Linked DNA regions of Homo sapiens: regions 2, 3, 4 and 5 are each linked to region 1. The links are contacts of gene promoters, found by promoter capture Hi-C in human tissues and cell types (Jung and others, 2019). All regions are on one chromosome and are shown on one strand. Each heading gives the region's core, a stretch centred on a gene start or on the middle of the fragment in contact. The rest is flanking DNA. Distances are from core to core; before and after follow the strand shown.

What was found. Contacts are between HindIII fragments. The study calls those that stand out against the background at their distance.
Region 2: a contact is called between a fragment that was not itself captured here and the fragment with the promoter of CCBE1 in region 1, in 4 of the 25 tissues and cell types used here (adrenal gland, hippocampus, mesendoderm cells and 1 more).
Region 3: a contact is called between a fragment that was not itself captured here and the fragment with the promoter of CCBE1 in region 1, in 2 of the 25 tissues and cell types used here (IMR-90 fibroblasts and lymphoblastoid cells).
Region 4: a contact is called between a fragment that was not itself captured here and the fragment with the promoter of CCBE1 in region 1, in 2 of the 25 tissues and cell types used here (H1 embryonic stem cells and IMR-90 fibroblasts).
Region 5: a fragment that was not itself captured here is called in contact with the fragment with the promoter of CCBE1 in region 1 in 3 of the 25 tissues and cell types used here (H1 embryonic stem cells, IMR-90 fibroblasts and lymphoblastoid cells).

What each region holds. Positions count from the first base shown.
Region 1 is chr18:59,695,927-59,698,858 of GRCh38, forward strand. CCBE1 (collagen and calcium binding EGF domains 1) reads right to left here and starts at 1,497. Exons shown (of 11, transcript NM_133459.4): 1 at 1,286-1,497; 2 at 703-783. The coding sequence starts at 1,416. The HindIII fragment of the contact is 11,314 bases long and covers 1-2,932 here.
Region 2 is chr18:59,585,216-59,588,147 of GRCh38, forward strand. All of the region lies in intron 2 of CCBE1 (collagen and calcium binding EGF domains 1), which reads right to left. Among named protein-coding and RNA genes, the nearest start is that of CCBE1, 110 kb to the right of the region's middle. The HindIII fragment of the contact is 3,937 bases long and covers 1-2,932 here.
Region 3 is chr18:59,603,415-59,606,346 of GRCh38, forward strand. All of the region lies in intron 2 of CCBE1 (collagen and calcium binding EGF domains 1), which reads right to left. Among named protein-coding and RNA genes, the nearest start is that of CCBE1, 93 kb to the right of the region's middle. The HindIII fragment of the contact is 6,151 bases long and covers 1-2,932 here.
Region 4 is chr18:59,778,070-59,781,001 of GRCh38, forward strand. It overlaps the pseudogene GLUD1P4. Among named protein-coding and RNA genes, the nearest start is that of CCBE1, 82 kb to the left of the region's middle. The HindIII fragment of the contact is 3,410 bases long and covers 1-2,932 here.
Region 5 is chr18:59,626,188-59,629,119 of GRCh38, forward strand. All of the region lies in intron 2 of CCBE1 (collagen and calcium binding EGF domains 1), which reads right to left. Among named protein-coding and RNA genes, the nearest start is that of CCBE1, 70 kb to the right of the region's middle. The HindIII fragment of the contact is 3,769 bases long and covers 1-2,932 here.

The sequences.
Region 1 (2,932 bases), core at 247-2,746:
AACCCTCATCTCCAAAAGGCTGCAAGCAGAACAGTGGTTCTCTCCTTTCAGAGACAAGAACCACCTGGGGAACATTTTATAACTACCGATTCCCTAGCCCCATCCACGCTTAGTTTTAACAAGCACCCGGGTCACTCATTTAACAAATACCCAGGTGAATCTGTGGCCCACATTTTTAGAAAGACTTTTTTCCTCTGCCCCAACAATCTTTTTGTTTTCACTCAACACAACCACTCACAATCCTCCCCCTACTTTTTTGTCCAGAGGCCGTGACAGCCACACTCTGCCCCAACAGAAGGTCAGAAGACAGACAAGTGCCAAGAATTGCCTTGTTGACGCTGTACTTTCAAAACAAAACACAAATACGAAAGCAGCCACCCGTGTTTGCTATGCCCCACTGTTTACACCCAAAATCCAATCCAATCTCCTTCACAGACTTCCACACAAGTATTTCAGGGAGCGGCAACCATCCTCAGGATCTCAGGGCACACACCCTAGACGCAAAGTCAGTTGCTCAGTGTTGCTCTGACTCCGATCCAACCAACCCTCAAAGATTCGCACCGCGCGGCACGCACCCAGCAGGTTCCAGCGTAAAAGCTGCTCCGGTCCCAAGCGCGTCTCCAAACCCCTCCTTTACAGCGCCGCCTCCCCAGCCAGCCCCGGTGCGCAGTGGCGAACAGCCCGCAGAGCCCCCAGGCTTACCTGTAGCATGTGGTGAGCTCGCCTGAAGACTTCAGACACGGGTATTTAGTCGTCGCGATTTTGCTCTCTGAGCAGATTTCTCTATGAAAAAGTGCAGAGGAAATGTTCGATTCTCAGCGGGAGAGCGGAGGCGGGCAGCGCGCGCTGGGGAATCCCTGGCGCGTGGGGATCGCCAGGCTCCCCGTCCCGGCGCTCTGGGCAGGGGCTGGTCCCCAAACGCGTACGCGGGGCAGACTCCGGCCACAGGGACGAGCCACGCGAGGGTCACGACGAAGCGAACCAGCTCCAGGAGAAAGGAAGCGGGGTTCACGAGCTGTGCCAGCCAGTGTGGCACCCGGGGGGAGGCAGGAACGCGGGGCGAAGGGTATCCCTGACGCGACCCACGGATGGCAGGGCGCAAAGGCTGATACCCGGGAGCGGAGGGAAGTGTCGCCCAGGACAGCTGAGCACTCTCCTTATCCCCGGAGAAGTGAGGGCGTGCGGATCGCTGTGGGAGTGGGCGCCGGGGAGGACCGCCCGCACCCCGCGAGCCGGGCGCGCATCAAGCAGGAGCTCGCCCTCCGCTGGGGCTTGCAGCGCTTACCTGTCGCCGTCCTCCGGCTCCTCTCTGTAGGTCCACGTGTGTCCCAACGCCAGGAGCAGCAGCAGCGGACCCAGGCTCCTGCCCAGCTGGCCCCTGGCAGCTCCTCCCCGGCTCGGAGGCGGCGGCACCATCAGGGAAGCTCCCGGCTTCTTCCCAGCGCCGAGCTCCGTCCGGACCAAGCGTCCTGCTCCTCCGCGGCCGCCGCCGCCTTCCCTCTTCCCGGCAGGGGGCGCCGGAGAGCAGGGGCGTTTGCACCACCTGCACGGGGAGCAGGGGTCCGGAATATTATGGGGCTGGGGGGAAAATGAGGCTAGGAGTTGGGGTATCGGATGCAAACCCAGCAGAGAAGCAGGTAAAGGGGGTACCTGCGGTGTCCGGCTGGCGCGAGGGCCCTGAGGTTCAAGTTGTCTCGTCGGGACGTTCACGTCCGATTGACAGACTTGCTGGACTCGGCTTGGGGCTGCGCCCTCGCCTCTTCCCTCTCCCTCCTCTGGGAGAAGCGCGCAGGGTGGGGAAAGCGGGCGGTTGTTTGCATTTTGCACCAGGGTCTCACGACCGGGAGGAGGAGGAGCTGATTCTCCACCGGGGAGAAGAGGGAGGGGGAAGAGAGGGGTTAATAAGCTTCCTTCCTGTTGTCCATGGGTTTCTAAAGCCCAGGGTCAGGCCAGTGTTCGTCTTTCCTCCGTGAGGACCTACCCTGAGATTTGCAACTATCTTAGTCTTCTTTTCTCTTAGATTATGTGAGGAAGGAGGAGTTGAAAGGCTACAACGGGCCTCTCAAATTGTTCAAACCTGAAATAGCGCTATTTATATAGTGTAATCACTCTTCCTTAAAACCTTTAGAAGAAAGTTCTCTGGTTGTTTCATTGGTCAATAAACCATGCGCTGTCTTCTTCATAACTCGAGTTCGGAACAAGTAAGGAGGTCTTTCTGGGAGCCTTACATCTCCTTGTCCTGAGCGGCTTTAATACTGTTTCCACGCCGCGCACATCAGAGCTGGAAACGCCCCCCCCCATCAAATGAGACACGTGGGGGCAAATTAATTACAGGTGCTGCTACCTGCTAGTGTATGCAGCCGCGTTGATAGGTAACAAGAAAACGGAGGAGGGGGGCCGTAAATCGGCTCCCTTGACGGTGACCCTAATTGTAATTCGTGTGTCAGCAACTTAACACTTTGTTGCGCTTTAGGAGTTTTCTCAGCCTTTTCCAGAGAAACTGGGGACGTGGATGTGGCCCAGAAATAAGTTGAAAAAGGAAAAGTTCTAATGCCTAAGCTCTAAAATATGCGTGGTTCTGCATCTCACAGGACAACGAGGTAAAAAGGTGGCTTGTTCACAAGTGACCGGTGTGTAAATTGGTTAGGTAAGCACATATTTTGATATACAGAATATGCTGGTCAACTGAGAATTACCACACATATCACATACACATTGACTTTTTTTTTTTTTTGAGACGGAGTCTCACTCTGTCGCCCAGGCTGGAGTGCAGTGTCTCGATCTTGGCTCACTGCAACCTCCGCCTGCCGGGTTCAAGAGATTCTTCTGCCTCAGCACCCCAAGTAGCAGGGATTACAGATGCATGCTTCCACACCCGGCTAATTTTTGTATTTTTAGTAGAGACAGAGTTTCACCATGTTGGCCAGGCTGC
Region 2 (2,932 bases), core at 189-2,688, 110 kb before region 1:
ACCCCTTCTGATGCCACCTCTACTCCCAAGGTACCCAGGTCTCTCTGTTACAAGCCCTCTTATCCCCCATGTAATCACCTTCATGGCACTTCAATGCTATCTGAAATCACAATGGCCATTTTACATTTTTGGCCATTTTACATTTATTTGGTGAACATCTGATTATTATCTGCCTCTCCACCAAGACTGCAGGCTCCTGAAAATAAGAATCCTGTTGGGCTATCACTGAATTCCCAAAATCAAGCTCAAGGTTTCACATGTCCCAGAAACTCAGAAAATAACTGGTGGATGAGTGAATATTCAATCAAATCCATTGGGATTTTCTGAGAACCACTTTCAGGTACCTCAAATTCTAGCTTCTCCAGTCAGAGGTGGAAAAGTGGCAAAATATCTTATTTTGTTAAGTATCAGCAAAACAACTTTTTAGCCATCATAAACCCAAGTGGAAGGAAAATTACAAAGAGATGCTGAAGATGCCTGGCACCCTGATCCACTCCTCATCCAGTATTGCATTCTTCATTGTGTGCATCATAGCCATACATTTTCATCAAGCTTGTACAAACAGCTTAATCCACACACATAGGCATTAATATCATTTAAAAATTGTCACTTAGTCAAAGTGGCATGTCCTATTTAAATAAGTTTAAGTTGCCTACATGTATTTCAACTACTATTTCTAAACCTGCTGCCATGATTTTAAGTGTCTAGCAATAAAATTTTAGATCAAAGGAGTAAACTTAGGGTTTGGAAAAATTTGCTACAAAGTTCAGATCAAAATGGAGGAAAATCTTTCTTTTTAGTAATAATATTGGCCTTTTAGTAATTTCACTTTTAATTTGATGCATGTAAAATACAGGTGACATATGTACATGTAAAATAGTACACGAAAACTAGTATCATGGACATGAGAAATGCTCAGCCTAACTTTAATGCTCCACTTTAGTCATAAGAGATTTCTCATGAGTTCAGTCCAATAAAGGACTCAAAGTTTTTAAAACAAAAGTCACATGATACTCCCTGGGAAGAAGAGGGAATGAGCCACTGGATTACCCTCTTCTTTCCATTTCAACCACAGGGAGGCTAGTAGCATGAAAATAGTGTGTGTATGTGGGTGGGAAGAATCAAATCTACACAAACACACTTGAGAAGAAGATAATCTCCATGTCTGGAAATAGAAAAACATAATGGTGAGTGGCTGAAATCCTCTGGCCCATGGGGAGTGGCCCCCACTGTGTTTAGCTTCAACAAGCATGCTTTGGGACACAACCAGAACTAAGCTCCCTGGAAGAAGTAATGAGCTAGGACCAGACCAATGTTAAAACTAAAATATCCCTTCATCAAACCCTAGATATGATCAGAAATGTAATACTCTCCTACGGCCAAGGAGGAAAGAACATCTGCGATGGGAAAGAAAAGTTGGCCAGCACTGCAAGGGAGCTCAGCATCCAGAATGGACCTCCTCTGCATGACAAAGCCCAAAATTTTCAACAAAAGTTTCAGACCCATTCAACACTGTGCACCCCTCATAGACAGGCTAGAGAAACCATGAAAACACATAAGATGATTTCACATAAAAATTATAAAAGCTTAATAGGAAATCCAGTAAGAAACACCTGAAAGGCACAACAGATGAGAATTCATGTGATGCAACCTGATAAAGCATTCTGCAAAGTACCTTAAAAACGTTCTTTATTCTTTGAGAAGGGATAGCAAACTTTCCATGAGTCTGGAGATCAGAAAAAACAGAGGGCAGATATGAAACAGAATGAAATGGAAACCGTGAACATGGAAATAAAATCTTTAAGTTATAAAAGAATAGATATTCATTTCGTTAGGAAGAAAAACTGGTGAACATGAAGGAAGAATTGAAGATGACTTCACTGGTAAGTTCTACCAATGTGCACAGAATATCTAACTCCACAGAAACTCTTTTGGAAAATTAAGATGTACTTCCCAAATTGCTTTATAAACCTTAAAGCCCAGTAACTATGAGAAAGGAAGCTAATCTCAGTCATGAATATCAATGTGAAAATCCTAAACAAAATGTTAACACTCCAAATCTAGCAACAAAGAATATATTGTGGTCAGCTTGGGTTTATTTCAGGAATGGAAGTGTAACACTGAAAACAATAAAAAGGACTTGTCACCTCAACAGACTGCAGAAGAAAAATCATAATCATCTCAACAGGTACCAAAAAGCATTTGCTAGCATTCAACAGTCATGTATGAAAAAACGTTTTACCAAACCAGGAATAGAAGAGATTTATTTTAATCCCGTTATATTAGTCAGGACAGAACATGTTATAGGAACTAACAGACTCCATTTTCAAGAGCTTAACATATAAAGTATATTTCTTGCTCATACACAGTCTGCTTATGGTCTATAGGCTTTTTGGAGTAGCTGTCTTCCAAGAAGCGACTCAGATCTAGGACGCATTTGTCTAATCTATCGCCACTCCTATTCAGCATTTTTCTGAAAGTCTCAGCTACTGAGTTAGGCAAGAAAAAGAAATATGAAAGAAAAATAAAATTTATCTTAATCACAGATAAGATTATAAAACAGAACCCAAAAGAATCTTGAAGTTAATTACTAACATAAGTTTAGCAAGTTTGCTAGATAAAAATTTATACTTGAAATCAATTGTACTTTTTGTAAAGAGGCAACAAATGAATTTTTGAAGATACTATTTTTGATAGCAAGGAGCCAGCAATAAGTTGGAGAAAAGAACTCTACAAAGAAAATATAAAGCTTTGCAATAAATTAGAGAAGGCTAAGAAGAAATCGGATCCTGATAATGAGTTGGAAGACTTGTATTATACATATGTTGGTTCTTAAATTCATCTATAGATTGAATAAAATCCTAATAGATTGTTTTAGCAGAATTTGATGCTAAAATTTACATAGCTCAAAGGGCCAAGAATAGCCAAGATT
Region 3 (2,932 bases), core at 322-2,821, 92 kb before region 1:
GAGGCAGAATTTGGCCTTTAAAGATAAAGATGGCTCATCTCTCTGTAAAACATCTGATTTAAATATAGTCTCTGGCCTCCTCCAGGGAAGATACCTCCCTGCTTCAAGACCTTTCACATCCTGGGTCATTTTCAAGGTTTTGCTCATCTTTAAGTAATTACAGAATTATCTACTAATTATATGTTCCTGTGTTGTTATTAAATCCAGCAAGAACACAAAATGAAATTAGCATTATCTTCCTACTACAAAGTTGTTGCTCTTTCTTTCTCCCACCCCAGAAAACCTTCCCTTATCTTTCTATAAAGAGACACACCAATTTTATTTTAGGAGAAACAGTACCTCTTATCCTTTTTAAAATACTGGAGACCAGGCAAGTACATTAGAAGAGGAAGATACAAAGCAGCTAGGAAGGAGATCTGAGGAAGTGCCAAGTGTTGGAGGTGGACATCTGAAGCTCTGTCCTGACCTCCTCAGGCCGAAAGGTCCTCAACCTCTCGATGACTCTGTTTCCATATCCAAAAGGGATGCCTTTGTAGTGCTGTTGTAAAAATGAAGTGGGAAGCCTGACACAAAATACATGTGACCACTGATAGAATCTTCTACTTTTTTTAAAAAATGAGAAGTTGGAAAAGGTATCTGTTGTTTCTCTCTGGTACTTTATCTCCTCTTATGCAGGCAAATAAGGAAGGATCCAATGGAGAAAGTAGGCAGAAGAAACTGGAAAACTTATCTAAGGAGGGCCCCTCTTCACCCCATAAGAGCTTCGCTGACGGAGGGTCACATAAGGCCAAAACAGTTATGGAGAGAGCCAGGAAGCAGCATGCTACCCTCTTCATAGGTTCAAGACAAGACACAGAGGTTTGGCCAGTTGTCCAAGGGTGCAGAGCCTGTGCATGTGAAGCTGGAGTCTGATCCCAAGTCTGTCTGACTTCACACCTGAGTTCTTAACCATTAGGCTGCATCATCTTCCATTTTCACAGGGCTAGGGGTAGGAGGACACATAGAACAGAGATACCTATCCAGGAAAAAAAAGCAGATGAGGGTCTCAAACTGGCCCTCTCTATAGTCCATGTTACTGATCAGATATAATAAAGTCAAATTACTACTCCCTTGATATAAGCCAACATACTAAGTAAGTGGCTACAGTCACCTGTATTTAAAAGGAGAGCTGATCATCTACTTCTGTAACAGAAAAACGTGAATTAAACAAGCAGATATGGGAGATTTAGTAAAGAAGGAAATTTCCATGGTATGTGATTGCTTCAATAGGCATTTGTTTCAATGTCCAATTTGGACAACTCTTCAGATGGATAATTTTGAGATACATTAGACCAGGATGTCTGCTTCTCAAAACCTGAAATGTACACTGTCTAGTTTTGTTGGCTTAGCAGTAAATGTACTTTAATAAACAAATGCCAAGTCTCTTAAAATGTATCATTTGTTCTTGGTCAGCTATTGCTAAGATGCTTGATAGGTAGGGTCAAAATGGGGCAAGATGCCCATCTTATCCAGTGATCAGTAGGGGATCCGGCAGCTCCAGGCCCACCTCAAACTGGAGACGGGAGCTCAGTGTCCAGTCACTGCCACCTACACCGTGTTCATCATGCCTGAAGATTAAAGCAATGCCCTCATGAGAGCATGTTCTGGCCTGACTTGATTGCAAAGGCTGGGAAAAGTGCCCACAGAAGGAGTGTCATCTGTTACACAGGAGCTGGTGGTTCTGCCCTAACAGAGGCTGCTCCCCCTAGGAGGCACAGCAGGGAGAAATGGAGAAGGAAGGAGTCTGGCAGTGATATGAACTTTGATCTTTTTGATAAAACATCTTCTACAACATGTTTTAGGGAACAGCTAAAGTCTTTAAGAACACCAAAGCCGGATCTTTCCTCTATTTGCTGAAAGCCAGTCACAGCGATAACAAGAGGAAGATGACAAGTTTTATCCTTATAGAGAACAGGTGGGTCGATGGTTGGAATAAGGCATGAACTAGCTGGGGTGTAGCACAGAATAAAGGGGGCATCTCACCCTACCAGGAGAAGGGCTTTATGGCAGAGGCATCATGCCAAGTGAGCCTGAAAAAGAATGTGGTCCAGGTGGATAACTCTTAGGTTGGCCAGCATTCCCCACTGGTCAGCCATTCTGCATAATTACTAGGTGTTCCTGGATCATCTCTCATATGCTAAAGCTTTGCTGGAAAACCAGGGGAACTAAAGATGACAAGGAGCCTCTTTGACCTCTCAAAAGCCTAGATGGCTACCCACCTAGAGCTTGCAGGGACTCTGCCTCTCATTTCTCCCAAAGGAACATTTCTTGGTGGATGATAAAATACCTCATGTTCCCAGCAAACCCTCAGACTGAAACATAAGAAGTACTTGAGTTGTTGCCAGAGAAACGTTCCAGAGCCAAGTGGACGACTGCTAGGGGTGGCCTTGGGATAAGCTATCCTCCCTCTAGCAGTTTTTGGGAGGAAAAGGTGAAGGTGGAAGTGAGCTGCTCCACTGGGGGAAATGCCTGAGCTAGGCCTCAGTTAGAAATCTACCAAGAGAAATCGCGATGCTCGAATGTCCGAACTGTAGATTTCTGCCTGAAGCACGTCACTGCTCTCAAGCAACCACGATGATCTCAACGCCTATGGTGCTTTGCGATTCAACTCCCATTTACCCCAAAGTTTAATGATTGTCAAAACAAGTCATGTTTTCTTAGTAATAACACGCTTAATTCTTAACTGTCCATTCATTGTTTCGGAAAAATGCTTCGGACAAAGGCAGAGATCACATTTGTGTATGTTTTGCATACTCCATGAGAGACCTTAGAGGCATTAGAACTCCCACAGATTGGTTTTTTACTTCCTTAGGATGGAATTCCTCAGATGTGACAGAAGGACACAGTGACCCTTTCAGGGAAAGCAGCGAGGCATCTGGGACAAAGACAATGT
Region 4 (2,932 bases), core at 314-2,813, 82 kb after region 1:
TGTAGATTAGGTAAACGTATTGCATCCATGGAAATATATGAAATTGATAACTTTACTATGGATATGAACCAATAGTCTCTTATGTAAAAGACTATTCCTACTCCATATGGATATCTGATAGATAGATAGATAGATATGATATATACATGTATGTACGAGGTATCTACATCCCCTTTGAGAGGAAAAGCAGACACCATAATTATGCCAGGACAATAGGTGCAAACCAGGACAGTCCTGGGCAAATCATACCTTGAGTCACTGGTGTCCTTGGCTAGGACAGTTTTGGTGGCGTATTGAGTGCAAAGCCCAGTGTGTGTGGGTTCAGGAAAGAATGGAAGGAGGAAAAGTGAAAACAGTGCGTATGAACAACTGTTTCAAGAAGGTTTCTTAATGGAAAAAAAAATGAGAGAAGTTGGCAGAGGCAGGAGGCAAAGTGAGGTCCAGAGACGGAGTTTTTAAGATGGGAGAACTAGGAGTGTGTGTGACAGGGAGGAAATGAAGTCAGGAGCATTATGGTTATTCCAGATCTCTACATGAATGCCAAAGGAGAGACAGCATCCAACTTTGAGTGGCTGAAGAATCTAAATCATGTCAGCTATGGCTGTTTGACCTTCAAATATGAAAGGGAGTGTAACTACCACTTGCTAATATCTGTTCAAGAGAATTTAGCAAGAAAATTTGGAAAGCACAGTGGAACTATTCTCATTATACCCACAGCAGAGTTCCAAGACAGGATATCAGGTGCATCAGAGAAAGACACCATGCATGCTGACTTGGTGTACGCAATGGAGAGTTCTGCCAGGCAAATTTTGTGCATAGCCATGAGGTATAACCTGGGATTGGACATGAGGACCACCGTCTATGTCAACGCCATTGAGAAAGTGTTCAAAGTATACAATGAAGCCAGAGTGACCTTCACGTAGATGGCTCATGGGTGACTTCCTTGCTACCCTCTTCACCTGTAACTTCTGCAGACCTACCACAGGTTTACATGTTACCACAGAAATCCCCTTCTCTCTTGACTCATTAGATAATGGACACTATTCTTAACAAATCGATCCAAATCAGCTCCCTAAGAAGAAAGTAATTAAGGTTAGGGGATCATGTACACTCTGATGACGGTGAAAGTAGAAATCACTGACACCAGAGAGAGAGACATGTAGGTGTGTTGCCTCTAAATGAAAAGTCTCTTCCATCTGGCTGTGCAGCCTTGCTCTGTGGCTCTTCCCAACACAGTCAGCAACTGTTGCCAGGGAAGGCACAGTCAAGAGCAATCAGATGCTTACTTCTTTGCTCTGGACGAGACTGGGAAGTGCTGTAACTTTTCACATATTCAGAAGGTGACATGGGGGCCGGGCGCAGTGACTCACGCCTGTAATCCCAGCACTTTGGGAGGCCGAGGCGGGCGGATCATAAGGTCAGGAGATTGAGACCATCCTGGCTAACAAGGTGAAACCCCATCTGTACTTAAAAAACAAAAAATTAGCCGGGCGTGTGGCGGGTGCCTGTAGTCCCAGCTACTCGGGGAGGCTGAGGCAGGAGAATTCCCAGAACCTGGGAGGCGGAGCTTGCAGTGAGCCGAGATCGCGCCACTGCACTCCAGCCTGGGCGACAGAGCAAGACTCCGTCTCAAAAAAAAAAAAGAAGGTGGCATGGTCCTCACATGAGTTATTGAAGCAAAATAACTCAATTTTACAGGATGCAAACAAAAATAAAAGCTGTTTCTGCTTATTAATTTTATTCTTCTGGAAAAAAATAAGTAATGCTGCTGTAATAAAATTGCTTTTAATCTCTTAACAAGCCTAACCTTGATTCAAGCAGTGAATGCCTACAAACATAATAAATTTAAAAAGCTAGTATTTTTATATCATAAAACAGTACCATTTAGAGCTTATCAGCCATGTATTGTTATCCAGCAAAAATAAGAAGCCCTATGGAGAATTAAATTATCTTCATACCTACAAAAATGCTGGAGGGCTATTTCTGTGAAGACGGTCGGAGTTTGCTGACTATAATTATGACACATAGTCCAAAGAATGCAGTAACCTCCTTATCATGTTAACAAATTGTTCTCTTTTGAAGGTCTATGGTTGACTAATTGAACAATAATTCAAATAGAATGTTCCAGAAAAAAAAAAAAAAAGTGGGTTCCCTGTTTGGAGATTGGCTGGCCCTGAACATCCCTTGCTAATGGCCTCTACTCAGCCTGACTTTGTGTCCTCTTCTTTTAGAGGCTTTGCATTCTGCACCCAGGTGCACAAACAGTGGGTTGAAAACAACCTTGGGTTGAATGTTTTGTTTGGGAATTATTTGGCCAGGTCCTTTTGAACAGTAGTGTCCCAGTCAAATGCTAAATAATAATATATGCAAAAATGAGCTTAAAAAAAACCTGTAATGCCCTTTCAGAATTCTAACTACTTTGTAACTGCATGACTTAACCTGGTAATAAAAGCAGTTATTAAAAGTCTACCTTACAAAAAAAATCTTCTCATCTCTGTAAATCAACAGGGATGGAAAACAAACCTATACTGCCACCCAAAAGACAAAAGAATTTAGAGTTTAGTAAAAGCGGCATTTTAAATGGGGAAAAGGTACATTATTGAATGAATGATGTCAGAACAATTCAGCACATGAGAAATAAAGTGACAACACTACAAATTCCAGACTGATCAAATATTTAAGTTGAAAAGCTTATCCAAGAAAGTACTCCAATAAACTACACAATAGTTTTGTTTTACAACCTCAGAAAAGGAAAGTCCTTTCTAAGCATAACAGGAAAACCTAAACTATAACAACATTTTGTGGCCAGGTGCGGTGGCTCACGCCTGTAATCCCAGCACTTTGGGAGGCTGAGGCTGGTGGATCATGAGGTCAAGAGATCAAGAACATCCTGGCCAACATGCTGAAACCCTGTCTCTACGAAAAATACAAA
Region 5 (2,932 bases), core at 123-2,622, 70 kb before region 1:
AAATGTTCCTGAAAAGAAGGAATTGGTTTTGTAAATAAAGTTCCACCTTAAAGTACTCGTTTATTTATGGAACCCCACAGTAAATCCTTTGGTAAAGTAAACCACCTCGCAATGCATCTGTTTTGAAAGTCCAAGCTTTCCTTAAGGTGAAATGTCCCTTTACGTGCATTTTTCAGTATCCAGATAAATGTGGAAAAGGCAGCTGACATGGGGGTATTTTCAGGGGCAGGAGGGTGAGGAGATTATAAACATGACAGGAGCAATGAACACTTATCAGGCTTATGTAGCCCTGGCACTGATTCCACACTTCAATATGGAAAATACTCAAATACCACTTACTCTGTGCCAGGCACTGCTCTAAGAATTTCCCAAGTGTTAGCTCATTTACCTCATTTAATCTTAACAATGAGTATTAGCATCATCCTTATTTTACAGAGGAAGCAATTGAGGCCCAGAGAGGCTTATCACCTGGCCCAAGGCCATAAAGCTAGCAAGTGGTAAGGCCAAGACTGGCCTTGTGGCCCTCTGACTCCAGAATCCATTCTCATCTACTATGCTATGCCACCTCTATGGGAATTTACTTATCACATCCTCAAAGAGCCCTGTGAGATAAGAACAGTGTTCCCATTCTGCAGACAGGAAAATCAAGGCCTGGAGGGGTTAAGGGTTGAGCCCTTGATTCCACAGCAGAGCTTGGGTTTGGACTATCCTGGTCCTGAACTTGTGCTCTTAGTCACCATGTCTTCAGCCTCTCCACAAGCTTCCCAACTGTGCCCATGGTCTTGGGATTGTGTGTCCATCCTGTTGTAGAGATCAACTAGTTCATGTTGATTTAGTTGATGATCCTGTTCTAGAGCTCAGTTTCCTTATCACTACTCTTTTGAATACTCTTCATTTCATAAAAATATAAAACAATCCATCATTCATCAGTTCAGCAATTCATGGGGTATACTGTGAAGATACTGCAAATTCCAGTCACTCCCTCTCATGTTAATCCTGCTTAGTTTCCTAGTGATATATACACCATATTGTCCGTATTCTGAGTAATTATACAGAATATAATCTCATTTGAAATGTCAAAAATTAGAAGACAAAATTTGTGTAATGTAGTCTAAATTTTTACAAAAGGAGAAAGAAATATGAATTACTAAAACGATTTTAACTGAGTTATTTTGCCAAAGCAGTATACTTCCTTAGTTTATACCACCTTTTACACCTCATTCTTTTCTTTCAGTATCAGAGTGGATAATACTGTGTCCCCCAAAAAGACATATCCAAGTCCTACTTCCTGGTACCGGAGAAATAGGTGTTATTTCTTATTTGGAAATATGGTCTCTGCAGATGCCGTCAAGTTAAGATGAGGTCACACTGGCTTAGAGCGGGACCTAATCCAATGAATAGTGTCATAAGGAGGAAATCTGGACACTCATAGAAACCCAGAAAGAATTCCATGTGACAGAAGAGGCAGAGACTGGAGTGAGCAGCTGTAAGTCAAGGAACGCCAAAGCTTGTCAGCAACCCCCAGACGCTGGAAGCAGCAAGGATATGCTCCCCTAGTGCCTTCAGAGGAAACTTGGCCCCACAGACACCTTGATTCTGTCTTCTAACCTTCAGAACTATGAGGATACATTTCTGTTTTTTTAAGACACAATTTGTTGCCTTAAGTTTGTTACAGCAAACCTAGGAAGCTTATACAGGCATATTGAAAACCATACTCAAAGTGGATTTTTAAGTGCCAGATTCTGCCAGGTGCAGTGGCTCACGCCCACAATCCGGGTACTTTGGGAGGCCAAGGTGGGCAGATCGCTTGAGCCCAAGAGTTCAAGACCAGCCTGGGCAACATAACGACACCCCGTCTCTACAAAAAATACAAAAAATTATCCGAGTGTGGTGGTGCATGCCTGTAGTCCCAGCTACTCGGGAGGCTGAGGTGGGAGAATCACCTGAGCCTGGGGGCAAGCTGAGACTGCAGTGAATTTTGATCGTGCCACTGCACTCCAGCCTGGGCAACAGAGTGATATCCAGCCTCAAAAAAGAAATCCAGATTCAGACTTCCATCTTTTTGGATATTCTTTATTTTTAATTAGTAAATATTACACAAGGATCCACTAAGTGGAAGCTACTATTTTTCATTAAAAATAATAAGGAGAATATGCTTTTTCTTATATTGGATTCTCTTGGGACAAAATGGTATTTTTTCCTAACTTTTCTCTTCCAGTCTTACTGCCCCTACTCCAAGAGACATGAGGTGATGGAAAAAATCTATCTTAATGCTCTTCCAGCCTAAAGATGGCAGCTTTTTACCTGATCATGTCAATAGTCCAATTCATGCTCCAGACCAACAGGGCTGCCATGGACATTCCCTGTAACCACCGCGATGTCCATGGCTTCGTGGGATGGATGGGAGTCATAAGATATGACGGGATAGAACACGTTCCAAAACCTGGGATCAGGCCTTCTAATCTAACCTGAGACAATCAAGTAGCCTTGGGAAAGGGCTTCTTCATTCAAGTCAGCTCCTCACCCGAGGACCCAGACCTGTATGTCCAAGTGCCAGTCCTTCCTCTCAAGTGGAACAAAATCCATGCTGAACTACTGAGCTCCCCAAATCTGCTTTCTAGGCCACCAACCTGCCTAGCTATAACCAAAAACTCAGAGCCATCCTTGACTTCTGTCCTCACCCCAAATTAGCAAGTCCTATTAGTACCACTTTTAAAACACTCAAAATCCAACCATTTGTCACCTCTCCTCTGCTACCTCTGAGTTCAGCCAGCACCCTCTCATCATTATCACTGCCACAGCCTCCTAAGGGATCCCATTTATACCCTTTTCCCCTAGGATGTATGCACAGCCAGCAGCCAGGGTAGTCTGGGACATACATGAGATCCTGTCACTCCTCTGTTCAAACTCTCCAAGGGCTCCCATGCCTCTT